Regions from separate parts of the Homo sapiens genome. Here regions 2, 3, 4 and 5 are each linked to region 1. Evidence: promoter capture Hi-C in 16 types of primary human blood cells and fetal thymus (Javierre and others, 2016). All regions are on one chromosome and are shown on one strand. The core of a region is centred on a gene start or on the middle of the fragment in contact, and the rest is flanking DNA. Distances in the headings are between cores, read along the strand shown.

Region 1 (2,700 bases), core at 59-2,558:
CCTTCTCCCTCAAAACAGTAAAACCCACACCTCCCCATTTCACAACAATCACAATCCCATAACCACCAGCTTCTCTATTCTCTAGCCTTGAAAGAAAGACACAGAATACACACAAATACAGGAACAAAAGGCCTCCCTTCCTAACACTTTAACGACCTCCATCCCCTTCTCTTCCTCCCACTCTGACGCTAAGTCGATCGTTCTCATCCCTGTCATCATTCAGTTAATTTCCTTCCCTAGCCCAATCCTGTCTTCCAGTTTCCTGCGTCTATTTCCCATTCTCCTATTGCAGCCTGCCTCATCCCCTTTCCTAATCCACCTTTTCCTTCACTTCCATTCCTCATTTCTCCCTTCATTCCCATAAAATGCCCCATTTCTCCAGCAAATTTATCCCCTTCTCCCAGACTCTTCTGGTTCCTACACTCCATCCCCAAATCTCCCTATTTATCAGTCCACCCAGGTCTGTAATCTCCATGCAACTCTTCTCCCCTTTCCCTGCCCCTCCCCGATCCATCCTTATCCCCGCCCCCATCCCACTTTCCCAATTCCCAGCTCAGCGCCACTCCGACTCCCATCCCACTCCCCACCTCCCCTGGCCCACCCCCCAATTCCCTCCACACCCCCCACCTTGCCATCTGCTCCTCCGTCAGGACTCCCCTCGAGCCCTTTCAGGCCACCCGCTTCCCCTTCCATTCCTCCTGGGGTCTGGCGCTCCATCCCTAGGTCGCCCCCTCCCCGTCGTTCCCTCCTCAGCCCTTCCTAGCACTACACACGCGCGCGCGCGCACACACACACACACACACACACACACATACACACACGCACACGCACTTTACCTTCAGTTTGTTCCATTCTAACCCCCCGGCCGTGTCAGTGCGATCACAGGAGAGACACGGAGGCCCGGAGTGGGGCTGGGGTGCGGGCAGCCGCTGGGGCCGCGCGAGGAGGAGGCGGAACCGAGCTAGGCCGCATGAAATCCCCGGGCTAGATTTTCCCCGCGCCGGACGCCTCTGCCATGGCGGCCGGCACTGAGGAGGGCCACGGCCGGGCCGGGCCGGGCGTGCTGCGGGAAGAGGAAGGCTCGGGAGGTGGGATGGGAAGGGGAGGCCGAGGGACGGGGGTCGCCGCGCCGCCGCTGCTGCCAGAGAGGAGCCTGCGGCTGGCAGCCCGGCCTGGGTAGCACGGTCCTCGGCGCTCGGCTCGGAATTCGCACGCCTCTCCGCGGCGACCTGTGCACAGCCCCCTCGGCCTCCGCCTCCGTGCTGGCCGCCGCCGCCGCCTCTCCCGCCGCCGCCGCGCACAAAGCCCCCCCACCCCGACTCTCGGGGCGCCGCCGCCGCCAAATCCTCAGCCCCTCATTGGCCGCGGGCCGCGGCGCCTGCCGGGAAATGCAGTCCCTGGTTCGGGACGCTGGGGCTCCGGAGGAAGCGGCGAGTCGGCGGGGCGGAGGGGGCGGGAGCGCGAACCAGGAACGCCCGCGGCAGCTAGCGTCTGGACGACTAGGGAGACCGGGCGAGAGGGCCGAGGAACGAGGGACGGGGAGGGACTGTACGTGGGAGAGTGACACACAAAACACCCCGGGAAGCCGGAGGAGGCGTGGAAAGGTGGGGCCCGGGAGGTAAAACTGGGATCGGCGCGTTCAGTGAGGCTGATTAAAGAACAACGCGCAACCAGCGCCATACGGCGCTCCTCAGGGTGACTCGGCTCTCTAGCTCTTAAGGGTTAGAAGCGACCCTCGCACGGTCCCCGGTGGGTCACCGCGCGAGGGCGGGGCAGTCCAGGCGACCCCTCGGCCGTCTCCCGTCCTACGGCTGTCAGGGAAGGGCTCCGGTTCCGGTAGGGTCTGCATTTGGAAAGCCGGGGGCGATGCAAGACCGCCTTGGCGTCGTCTCCCTCTCAGCCCCGGCTGAGCTGTCGGATGGTCCCCCTCCCCCGGTTGCAAGCAGTAGGAGACCCGGCCGGCGGCGCCGGCTCGCCGAGGGAGCGCCTCGACCTCCCCGGCAGGCGCCGGCCCCGCGCGCCTCTTCCTGCTCTGCTGCGGCCCGGAGGCTTGTGGGTAACCGGGAGGACGACGTCAGCGCCCGCCGCATCCCCGGGTGCCCCCCAGCCGCGGGGGACCGCGACGGCTCCGTGACCGTCACGTGCCGGAGGCCGCGGCTGCTCGCGGCCAGACCTTCGCATCGAGGGACGTGAGGGACATTTGTCCTAGAGGGCCCAAGATAAGAACGAGAGGAAGAACCGGGAGGCAACTCTCCGTCATCCTCTAGCCCCCCGCATCCTAGGAAACGTATGGAAAACAATGGAAGGTTAAGTGTGTGCACAGTGATCTGGCCCTGCAGGAGTGTGCCGACCAGGTGATATTTCCTGGGGCCTGGTGATAAGGATTTGGAAGGTTACAGCACAGAGACGTGAACGTAAAAAGGAAACAGAGGCAGCAAGCAAATGAGGAAACCGATACTCTGTTCTGAGAATAAAGCCATTTTACCGCTAGACGTCATACTCTGTAGACGTTATAGTGCTGGATGTCTTTGGTACTATTACAAGAAATTAGATATCTCTATCTTTAAATATCACTTAAGGAAATTAAATGATTTCTACAGATCAGTTATTTAAAAGGGCACTAATTATGAACTATTTTTTTTAAACGTAACCCGGTTAATACTAGATACTGAGAATTATCAGTATTGGCTGGGCGCAGTG
Region 2 (2,700 bases), core at 49-2,548, 190 kb before region 1:
GTCTTACTCTGTTGCCCAGGCTGGAGTGCAGTAGCACAATCATAGATCATAGCTCACCATAACCTTGAATTTCTGGACTTTGCCTCTGCCTCTCACCTCTCAGCCTCCTGAGTAGCTGGGACTATAGGCACCCATCATCACGCCCACCTGACATTTTTTTTTTTTTTTTTGGGTAAAGACTGAGTCTCATTATTTTCCAGGCTGGTCTTGAACTCCTGGTCTCTGGCCCCAAGCAATCCTCTTGCCTCAGCTACCCAAAGTGCTGGGATTACAGATTGAGCCACTGCGCCCAGCCCAAGTTGGTGGGTTGTCTTTTTTTTTTTTTTTGAGACGGAGTCTCTGCTCTGTGGCCCAGGCTGGAGTGCAGTGGCATGATCTCTGCTCACTGCAACTTCTGTCTCCTGGGTTCAAGCTATTCTCGTGCCTCAGCTTCCTGAGTAGCTGAGATTACAGGCACCCACCACCACACCCAGCTAATTTTTGTATTTTTAGTAGAGACGGGGTTTCACCGTGTTGGCCAGGCTGGTCTCGAACTCCTGACCTCAGGTGATCCACCCGCGTCAGGCCTCCCAAAGTGGTGGGATTACAGGCGTGAGCCACTGTGCCTGGCCAAGTTGGTGGTTTTTTAAAGAAGATAAAATACAGTTTGAATTCATACTGATATTTACAATTCAAATTAAGGATTATAAGGTTTTAAGTTTCATTATTCTTATATCTGTGTCTCCTATCTCCCATTGTGAAAATACTGATTCCCAACAATACCAATGTAAGTATTCATTTGCAACTATAATACCCGCATAACAGTACCAAGATAACAAACAGTACCAACAGTGTTGATAATTATGATTACTGAAAAAAATTCAAAGTATTACTGAAAACAAAGTATTATGAAATGGATAAGTAGTGCAGTTAAGCTAATAGTGATAATCTCTCAGTTATTTCAGCTGCCAATGAATTTCTTTGTGAAATCATATTCAAAGTTTTAGAAAAAATGTCGAAGGTCCTGTTCAAGCTTAAAACTATACTTGGGCGGGCACAGTGTGGCTCACGCCTGTAATTCCAGCACTTTGGGAAGCCAAGCCGGGTGGATCTCCTGAGGTCAGGAGTTCAAGACCAGCCTGGCCAAAATAGTGAAACCCGGTCTCTACTAAAAGTACAAAAAATTAGCTGGGCGTGGTGGCAGGTGCCTGTAATCCCAGCTATTCAGGAGGCTGAGGCAGGAAAATTGCTTGAACTTGGGAAGCGGAGGTTGCAGTGAGCCGAGATCGTGCCATTGCACTCCAGCCTGGGCAACAAGAGCGAAACTCTGTCTCAAAAAAAAAAAAAAAAAAAAAACCCTAAATCTATACAGTTGAAAGCAAAATAACTCATAGGATAATAAATGTATGTAATAAACCAGATAATAGGTGCTCTGAGAAGTTTTGAGTATATTTAGTCTTTTATCAAAGTTTATTGGCTTATTGCAAATCATGCGTTAACTTTCTGAGTTGGAGAGAAAGGCTGATGAAATTATTGTCGTAGCTAGATTTTCTCTTTGGATTGGTAAATGTTCTGCATCAATGCCTGACACTGAGGCTGCCAGCGGAAAGCTTAGCCATAGCACAGAGTAGAATATGAAAAACTAGGGTGTGTCAAGGCAAAGAAGTTGGAGATTGAAGATGTATGTGCTTGAGCGAAACTCTAGTAGTAATGTCTTTGTGTTCCAAAGTTATTGGTAAATATAACAGTAGCAAAGAACCATTTTGTTGCACTAATTAAATTAGTAGTCTTGAGGATTAGTTATTGGAGAAGGATAGAGGTGATCTAATGTCTCTGATTTTGCTAATCATCTTGATGTAGTAGAATTCCTTTATATAGCATTTGGTGTGGTGGCATTGTCGAAACAGATAAGAACAGCTTTTTACTAGGTAATAATTGTTTTGTCATAGAGCATTTGATTTACCATGTACTGAATAATTAGCAGTTTTATAGTTGGGGTCCTATTCCCTTTTTTCTTTTATTTTTTGTTTTTAAGAGACGGGGTCTCTCTTGACCATACTAGACTCAATCACCTGAGCTCAAGCGATCCACCCACCTCAGCCTCCGCAGTAGTGGGACAAGAAGCGTGTGCCACTGTGCCCAGCTTATTGCTTTTTGTCTATTGCTTTTTTTTTTAATCCTTATAACCTGCCTCTATCAATCTATCTTAAAATGATGTATGAATGTTATTAAGAGTGAATTTATTTTTCTTTTTTTCTTAGGAGCAGCCACCATATCCTAGCTACAATTCTAACTATTGGAATTCTACTGCGAGATCTAGGGCTCCTTACCCAAGTACATATCCTGTAAGACCAGAATTGCAAGGCCAGGTATGGTTTAAAAACAGAGACTTTCTGAACTTTTTCTTAATGAATAGATTTATTTTCAAAACCTGTGCAGATTTTAGAGCAGTGATGAGTGTGTGTTTTTTTTCTTTGCTTTAATGGGCTCCATCAATCTCATCTTAATGTTTTTAGCTCAGAGATAAGGAAATATCTAGGCAAATATACCTATAGCTTGAGGCATAATAAATTATTTTCCAGGACCCAGAAGGAACAAACATAAAATATACTTATTTTTGAAAACTTTACTGATTACAGACATTTAATTTAAAATATTTTAAAATTATAAAAAGTACAGAAAATATATACATTTTAAATCTAGCATGCAGGGCTGGGTGCA
Region 3 (2,700 bases), core at 200-2,699, 170 kb before region 1:
CGTTGGATCTATCCCCAGCAGGACTGTCAGACTGAAGCACCCCCTCTTAGGGGGCAGGTTCCAGGATATCCGCCTTCACAGGTGAGTTGTTTTCTATTGGGAAAAAAATGAATTCAAAGTCTCTGCCTCTTGTAAACAGTGGAAGAGCATCTGTTCATACTAGTGCTGATTTAATAAGACACTTCTAGATTGGGAAGGCTTTTATATTGATGCCTTTCTTATTTGTGGCAGCTATTGCAGTAAATGGACTTTGGCTGAAGGTCATAATCATAAATTTTTATACTGAAAGTAATCTTTAGAGAGTTGCTGCTTGAAAGTTTCCCTATCTTAGCCTTTTTTTTTTTTTTGTGGCGTGATCTTGGCTCACTGCAACCTCTACCTCCTGGGTTCAAGCAATTCTTCTGCCTCAGCCTCCCAAGTAGCTGGGATTACAAGCACGCGCCATCACGCCCAGCTCATTTTTGTATTTTTAGTAGAGATGGGGTTTCACCATGTTGGCCAGGATGGTCTTGATCTCCTGACCTCGTGATCTGCCCCCCTCGGCCTCCCAAAGTGCTGGGATTACAGGCATGAGCCACCGTGCCAGGCAAATCTTAGCCTTTTTTAGCACCCTGTTAGGTTCTTTTTTTTTTTTTTTTTTTTGAGACGGAGTCTCGCTCTGTCGCCCAGGCTGGAGTGCAGTGGCACGGTCTAGGCTCACTGCAAGCTCCACCTCCTGGGTTCATGCCATTCTCCGGCCTCAGCCTCCCGAGTAGCTGGGACTACAAGCGCCCGCCACCGCGCCCAGCTAATTTTTTTTGTATTTTTAGTAGAGATGGGGTTTCACCTTGTTAGCCAGGATGGTCTCGATCTCCTGACCTCGTGATCCGCCCATCTCAGCCTCCCAAAGTGCTGGGATTACAGGCGTGAGCCACCGCGCCTGGCCAGGTTCATGTTTTTTTAATATTCTGTGAATAACTATGTTTATTTCTCTGTTCACTTCAAGAGGAGTTCTAACATGTCTTTATTTGTGCTTCCTTATAGCATATGGGTCCGTTTGTTTATAGTATCTATGGGACAGACTTGGGTTTCATCCATTGAATTTTTAGGCCTTATTCCTTCTGAGTTTTATTGTCATTAAATCTACCCCTGGTATCTTTGGAACCAACTTTTTGAGGCTTGGAGAAATTACTGCAGCTGATTAATTAGATTTACTACAGTTTAGTCCGGTAGCAGCTAATGTATACTCTGTTAAGAAGAGAGGAAGCATCTCAGAATCTGCCTGTAGCAGAATATTTTTATTATAAGTTTTTCACAATGACTGGTATATTTCTTCTTCTCAATCTAGAACCCTGGAATGACCCTGCCCCATTATCCTTATGGAGATGGTAATCGTAGTGTTCCACAATCAGGACCGACTGTACGACCACAAGAAGATGCGTGGGCTTCTCCTGGTGCTTATGGAATGGGTGGCCGTTATCCCTGGCCTTCATCAGCGCCCTCAGCACCACCCGGCAATCTCTACATGACTGAAAGTACTTCACCATGGCCTAGCAGTGGCTCTCCCCAGTCACCCCCTTCACCCCCAGTCCAGCAGCCCAAGGTAGGAGACCTAAATGTTGTTCCTTTAATGTGTGTGTAATTAGGAGAACATAACATGGTTTATATAGTTTCTGTACTGGTTTGTGTTAAATGGGGACTAATTACAAAAAGTTGGTGACTACTTATCTATAGCTTTACCTCAGCTCGGTTTCCTTTTTCTTTTTTTTAATAGACTTTATATTTAGAGAAGATTTAGATTCACATCGTTTTTGTTAAAAGACAGAAAGATACACATTTTCTGTTTGTTGTAATTCTTCTAAACGTTAAATGCAAAGATGCATTTTACTACTTCAAATAATCTATGAACAGAAGACAAAACCAATGTGAAATATCTGTAGCATGAGCTTGTATTTAAACCACAGACTTGAACATTATCACTTGTGGCTGTGTTCCTTTTCAAGACCTTGCTTGAGGTTTTTAACCTTTTAGGGGAAAAACTAATTCTTATTAATTAGGTCACAGGATGGACTATGAGGTGCTCATGGTGATGGACCTGCCACAGGGCAGGTTCCAGCCATTATAACTCAAAAATTCTGTGCCTTTTGTCTGACAGGGCACTCCCTTTTATCTTCTTAGGACTGTGTTTTTTTGCAAATGATTAAGGAGAGGGGTCCAATTTTATTGTTAGGGAATCTTTTCATGTACCTTTCTGGTCAAGTGAAAGATGTGGGCTAACAAATTTGATGTTGATGCATTCCCATTAAAACAGCTCTTTTCCTCTTTTTGCTCTCCCACTCCAAGGATTCTTCATACCCCTATAGCCAATCAGATCAAAGCATGAACCGGCACAACTTTCCTTGCAGTGTCCATCAGTACGAATCCTCGGGGACAGTGAACAATGATGATTCAGATCTTTTGGATTCCCAAGTCCAGTATAGTGCTGAGCCTCAGCTGTATGGTAATGCCACCAGTGACCATCCCAACAATCAAGATCAAAGTAGCAGTCTTCCTGAAGAATGTGTACCTTCAGATGAAAGTACTCCTCCGAGTATTAAAAAAATCATACATGTGCTGGAGAAGGTCCAGTATCTTGAACAAGAAGTAGAAGAATTTGTAGGAAAAAAGACAGACAAAGCATACTGGCTTCTGGAAGAAATGCTAACCAAGGAACTTTTGGAA
Region 4 (2,833 bases), core at 123-2,622, 230 kb before region 1:
GTCAAGTCTAATATTTACTCTGCCACTGTGGGCAAGACTTTCCTGTGTACCCCTGCTACAAGACTTGTCCAGCTCTGAAGGAAGGCAAAGTCAGGAATAGTTCAAGAAAGATGGCCAGGCATGGTGGTGCACGCCTGTGGTCCCAGCCACTCAGGAGGCTGAGGCAGGAGAATTGCTTGAACCCAGGACGCAGAGGCTGCAGTGAGCCAAGATAGCGCCAGTGCACTCCAGCCTAGGCAACAGAGCGAGACTGCCTCAAAAATAAAATAGGCTGAGCGCCATGGCTCATGCCTATAATCCCAGCAGTTTGGGAGGCAGATCACCTGAGGTCAGGAGTTCAAGACCAGTCTGGTCGACGTGGCGAAACCCTGTCTCTACTAAAAATACAAAAACTAGCCAGGCGTGGTGGCATGCACCTGTAATCCCAGCTACCCAGGAGGCGGAGGTTGCAGTGAGCCGAGATCGTGCCACTGCGCTCCAGGCTGGGCAACAGAGTGAGACTCCATCTCAAAATAAAGTAAGCCAGGTGTGGCGGCTCACACCTGTAATCCCAGCACTTTGGGAGGCCAAGGTGGGAGAATCCCTTGAGCCCAGGGGGTCAAGACCAGCGTGACCAATATAGCAAGACATTGTCTCTAAAAAAAATAAAAATAAAAATAAATAAATAAAACTAGCTGGTTGTGGTGGTGCACGCCTGTAGTCCCAGGTACTCAAGAGGCTGAGGTGGGAGGATGGCTTGAGCCCATGAGTTTGAGGCTGCAGTGAGCTATGATTGTTCTACTGTACTCCAGCCTCTGTGACAGAGACCTTTATTCAAACAAAAAAAAAAGAAAAGGCGGAAGAAAAAAAGAACGAATGAAGGAAAAGGGGAAGGAAGAAAGGAAGAAAGAAAGGAAAGGAAGGAGGGAAGGAAGAAAGAAAAAGAATAAAAATGAAAGAAAAGGAGAAAAAAAGATTGGAGTCCTGGAGGGGAGACCAGAAATTATAGAATCTGGAAGGGATATATCTTAGTAACCAGCCCACTTCTTCCGAGGGGAAAACTGAGATTCAAGAAGGGAAGAAACTTGCCCAGGTTCACCCAGTAAGAGGCACAACTAGGATCAGAATTGGGTGGCCTGAGCCTCATCCGCTGAGAGCTGGCCAACCCCTCATCGCCTCCTTCCCGCAGCGCTCACCCTTCATGTTGCGCATGTGTCTGTAGGAGCTCCCAGCGCACAGCTTGAATGTCGCTAGCAGCATTGTTTCCTGGCAAATGTGGCAGTGGTGGGGTCGCTGCCGCTGCTGCTGCCGCCGCTGCTGCTGCCTCTTCTCTCAAGGGTGGTTCTTCGTCCTTCCTGAGCCCCTCAAGCTTCGCCTCTGAGTCCCGCAGCTGCAGCCTGGACCTGGTGTTCTGCGTCTTAAATGTCCCCCGCTGAAGGCTGTGCATCATCATCAGGAGATAAAAACGCCATCACTCACTGTGCAAAGGAAGGGGTCAAGGATAGAGCGATTGCCTCACACTGCTGCTTTGGCCGTTTGTGGGGAGCTTGGGGCGGGGGAGGGTGCAGGGGAGAGTAGGGAGGACAGGGCCAGGCGAGGGATGGAGGGGAGAGAAGCAGGGGCAGCTTAGATGAAGGCACACAGTGGTTTTCAAGACTTTAAAGTGCAGATTTCTAGCCCTTGTCTTCAGAAACTCCAGGCTCAGCTGATCTGGAATTGAGGCTCAGAAACCTGTGTTAAAAAAAAAAAAAAAAAAAAAAAAAAAAAAAAAAAAGAAGGAAAAGAAAAGAAAAAAGAAAAAAAGAAAAGAAAAAAACTTCCCTTGGCCAGGCGCGGTGGCTTACGCCTGTAACCCCAGCACTTTGGGAGGCCGAGGTGGGCAGATCACTTGAGGTCAGGCGTTCGAGACCAGCATGGCCAACATGGTGAAACCTCATCTCTACTAAAAATACAAAAAATTAGCCGGGTGATGTGGCAGGCACCTGTAGTCCCAGCTACTCGGGAGGCTGAGGCATGAGAATCACTTGAACCCAGGAGGCAGAGGTTGCAGTAAGCCAAGATCGTGCCACTGCACTCCATCCTGGGCGACAGAGTGAGACTCCGTCATAAATAAATAAATTAAATAAATAAATAAATAAATACCCAGTGGTTGCAATGCAGGTGTTGTGTGGACTACACACTACACTTTGAGAACCACCGTCTCGCGAGAGTGAGCCAGGGTGTTTACCAGGCAGTAGAGACCATATGGCTGCTCTTCTTCTGGGTGAGGACCCTGAAGTCCACAGAGTGGAACTGACTTGTTCAAGGTCAAACAGCTGGCCAGTGGCAGGGCCAGGACAACAACCCAAGCCTCTGGCCTTCAAGCCATCTGTACACAGTTCCTCCTGCGGTCCCCAGGACGCTTGGTATATTCAACTGTCAATTTATTTACTCATCTATTTATAGAAACCACCTTTCCCAAAGTCCTGTTCCGAGTGAGGGTTCTTAGGGGTCTGTGCTGGAGCAAGGATGACCTCTCGTGGCTGAGTCGCGGGGGGGCGGGGGGGGGCGGGGCAGCCCTATCAGTATACGGCAGAGAGAAGAGGAGGGCCTGGGCCACGCCCACACCCTTCCTCACACTTTCCCGCCAGTAGCTTTGTCTGAGTGAGCTGGGCTGGGGGTCTTGGTATGTGCAGAAAGCTTGAAAAGACAGGGCATGGGCTGGGCACAGTGGCTCATGCCTGTAATCCCAGCACTTTGGGAGGCTGAGGCGGGCAAATCACAAGGTCAGGAGTTTGAGACCAGCCTGACCAACATGGTGAAACCTCGTCTCTACTGACAATACAAAAATTAGCCGGGAGTGGTAGCGTATGCC
Region 5 (2,803 bases), core at 245-2,744, 140 kb before region 1:
AACTCAGCTTATACAAAATAATTTTCTTATGGAAAATTATGCCACTGTAGAATAAGAAAATCACTGACATATTATGTGAGCATGTCTTCCATGTAGAAAGGGACTATTGACAGATCTGTTAGCCTAATATATTTTCACGGTTCTCATTTCAAGCCATACGAGTTGTATATCAAAACTCCAGTTCAGATTTTACTGTGTGGTTTGAAAGACATGATTCTACACTTAAAACTGCATTGTATAGAGATGATTGTATTGCAGAATATTTTTATTGCTCTGATCTGTTCTGTTTAAGCTTATGGTGCATTACCAGCCAGTTGCAGGGTCTGATGATTGGGGTTCAACACCCACGGAGCAGGGTCGACCAAGAACTGTGAAGAGAGGAGTTGAGAACATCTCTGTTGACATTCATTGTGGTAATGTTAATCGTTTATTTTTTCTTACCTTTGGATGTATTTGTTTACTCCTTAAATTGTGACCTTTTTCTGTGGATTTAGATTACCTCAAGGCTTAAAAATCATCTTTAATCATATGGGTTTATTCCAAGTTGAGATTAGCATCACTTCGTCTACTAAGAATCTTAATAGATGTAAAAATATCTTTTAAAACATATGGTAGGATGGGTAAAATTTGGCAATACTATCCAGGAAGTCACTAAGTACAGATGAACTGATTTAGTCCTAATTCCAAGAAGTGTGATTCCACCTACTTGACTAGAAATTTATACCTGGTAATAACTCCTTGTCCTTGAAGATTTTCAACTAAGGAAAACTGTTTTTCAGCAGGACCTGATTATGCACTGCTATCTAGGTAGGGTCACTTATGGTTTTATAATATATTTAATTGGATTATAATATTCCTTTTTTCTTGTCTCTTGGACAAAATCCTAGCTTTACTGTAATTTAAAAAGATGAGTTTAAAATTTCAGGCTTTAAAAACATACCAAACATTGATAAAAATGAAATACTAGATAAAAGTATTTTATCAATGTTCAGTTGCCTGGATTCAATAACTGTATTATGGTTATGTAAGATAATATACTTAGGAAATACACATTATGGTATTAAAGGGTTAAAGAGGTATGGTGCATGCAACCTGATGATGTATGTAGTCTGCTTTCTAATGATTCAGAAAAATAAATGTGTGTGTGTGTGTGTGTACACACACAGAGAATCATAAAGCAAATGTAATTGTTAAAAAGTTGAATCTCTGTAAAAAGTATGTGGGAGTGTCTGTACTATGCTTTCTAGTTTTCTGTACATTTCTAGTTATTTAGAAATAAAAAGTTTTAAAAACCTGGCTGCACGTGGTAGCTCATGCCTGTAATCCCAGCACTTGGGGAGGCCAAGGTGGAAGGATCACTTGAGCCCAGGAGTTCGAGACCAGCCTGGGCAATATGGCGAAACCCTGTCTGTACAAAAAATACAAAAATTAACTGGGCATGGTAGCACACATCTGTAGTCTCAGCTATTTTGGAGGCTGAGGCAGGAGGATCACTCGAGCCCAGAAGGTTGAGGCTGGAATGAGTGTTTATCATGCCACTGCACTCCAGCCTAGGCGACAGAGTGAGACTCTGTCTCAAAAAAAAAAAAAAAAAAGTTTTTAAAACCTGAAAAAAGGCCAAGTGTGTTGGCTCACGGCTGTAATCCCAGCACTTTGGGAGGCTGAGGCGGGCGGGTCAGGAGGTCGAGACCATTCTGGCTAACACGGTGAAACACCCTGTCTCTACTAAAACTACAAAAAATTAGCCAGGTGTGGTGGCGTGTGCGTGTAGTCCCAACTACTCGGGAGGCTGAGGCAGGAGAATCGCTTAAACCCGGGAGGCAGAGGTTGCAGTGAGCCAAGATCGTGCCACTGCACTCCAGCCTGGGTGACAGAGCAAGACTCTGTCACAAACAAAAAAAAAACCATAATTTAAAAAAAAAAAAAAAAGAGTTTTTTTTTTTGGAGACAGAGTCTTGCTCTGTCACCCAGGCTGGAGTGCAGTGGTGTGATCTCGGCTCACTGCAACCTCTGCCACCTCCAGGGTTCAAGTGATTCTTCTGCCTCAGCCTCGCGAGTAGCTGGGATTACAGGCATGTGCCACCACACCCGGCTAATTTTGTATTTTTAGTAGAGATGAAGTTTCACCGTGTTGGTCAGGCTGGTCTCGAACTCCTGACCTCATGATCTACCTGCCTTGGCCTCCCAAAGTGCTGGGATTACAGCCGTGAGCCACCGCGCCCAGCCGAGTTTTCTTTTTCAGAGATCAGAAAAAAAAGAAAAAAGTCCTGAAAAAAATTTTACAGACTTATTTCAAGATAAATTAGAAACCAAGTAAAATCAGTGTATTTTTGCTAGGTACTTAAAGGACTATTTTGTATCTTTTAAATTATCTGTTCATCTTTTAACTTGCTCATATTTATAACCTTTTCATGATGAATGATATTAGAATACATGACTAATTATACAGAATAATTTTCTTTTTAATTTCATTTATAGGAGAACCTTTACAAATAGATCACTTGGTTTTTGTAGTCCATGGGATTGGACCAGCTTGTGATCTCCGCTTTCGAAGCATTGTACAGTGTGGTAGGTTTGCAAAGCATGTGAGAGAATATTAATCAGTGCTCTTGTGAGCTGAGATAAAGCCTTGTCTTTGGTCTATTGTCTTAGCTGCATAAGAAGATTTGGAGAGTTAAAGACAGGTGGCAAGGTAGTAAAGCTTCTCAGCTTAGACCTGAAGTGCTAGGAAATTCCTGAGTCTAATAGTTTATACTCTTAACTATTGTAATAGTCTCAAATGAACAAGCAGTTAATCCCTATA

Evidence for each region. Contacts are between HindIII fragments. The CHiCAGO score rates a contact against its expected background, and 5 or more counts as called.
Region 2: a fragment that was not itself captured here is called in contact with the fragment with the promoter of NSD3 in region 1 in 15 of 17 cell types (naive CD4 T cells, activated CD4 T cells, naive CD8 T cells and 12 more); the score reaches 24.6 in naive CD4 T cells.
Region 3: a fragment that was not itself captured here is called in contact with the fragment with the promoter of NSD3 in region 1 in 10 of 17 cell types (naive CD4 T cells, total CD4 T cells, naive CD8 T cells and 7 more); the score reaches 8.6 in naive CD4 T cells.
Region 4: a contact is called between the fragment with the promoter of STAR here and the fragment with the promoter of NSD3 in region 1, in 2 of 17 cell types (activated CD4 T cells and naive CD8 T cells). The highest score is 5.8, in activated CD4 T cells.
Region 5: a contact is called between a fragment that was not itself captured here and the fragment with the promoter of NSD3 in region 1, in 17 of 17 cell types (naive CD4 T cells, naive CD8 T cells, activated CD4 T cells and 14 more). The highest score is 34.4, in naive CD4 T cells.

Annotation. Positions count from the first base shown.
Region 1 is chr8:38,380,963-38,383,662 of GRCh38, forward strand. NSD3 (nuclear receptor binding SET domain protein 3) reads right to left here and starts at 1,309. Exons shown (of 24, transcript NM_023034.2): 1 at 837-1,309. It also overlaps a transcript of LETM2 not described here. RefSeq lists enhancers at 1-366, 657-1,447 and silencers at 1,096-1,495, 1,526-1,675, 1,866-2,215. The HindIII fragment of the contact is 5,398 bases long and covers 1-2,700 here.
Region 2 is chr8:38,190,448-38,193,147 of GRCh38, forward strand. It overlaps BAG4 (BAG cochaperone 4), which reads left to right. Exons shown (of 5, transcript NM_004874.4): 2 at 2,241-2,348. Among named protein-coding and RNA genes, the nearest start is that of BAG4, 15 kb to the left of the region's middle. The HindIII fragment of the contact is 577 bases long and covers 1,011-1,587 here.
Region 3 is chr8:38,207,686-38,210,385 of GRCh38, forward strand. BAG4 (BAG cochaperone 4) reads left to right here. Exons shown (of 5, transcript NM_004874.4): 3 at 1-81; 4 at 1,328-1,582; 5 at 2,323-2,700. Among named protein-coding and RNA genes, the nearest start is that of DDHD2, 23 kb to the right of the region's middle. The HindIII fragment of the contact is 6,479 bases long and covers 1-2,700 here.
Region 4 is chr8:38,149,580-38,152,412 of GRCh38, forward strand. It overlaps STAR (steroidogenic acute regulatory protein), which reads right to left and starts at 1,373. Exons shown (of 7, transcript NM_000349.3): 1 at 1,176-1,373. The coding sequence starts at 1,239. RefSeq lists enhancers at 1,212-1,511, 1,860-1,892 and a promoter at 1,346-2,661. The HindIII fragment of the contact is 1,310 bases long and covers 1,347-2,656 here.
Region 5 is chr8:38,237,797-38,240,599 of GRCh38, forward strand. It overlaps DDHD2 (DDHD domain containing 2), which reads left to right. Exons shown (of 18, transcript NM_015214.3): 5 at 293-413; 6 at 2,479-2,568. Among named protein-coding and RNA genes, the nearest start is that of DDHD2, 7.6 kb to the left of the region's middle. The HindIII fragment of the contact is 2,409 bases long and covers 291-2,699 here.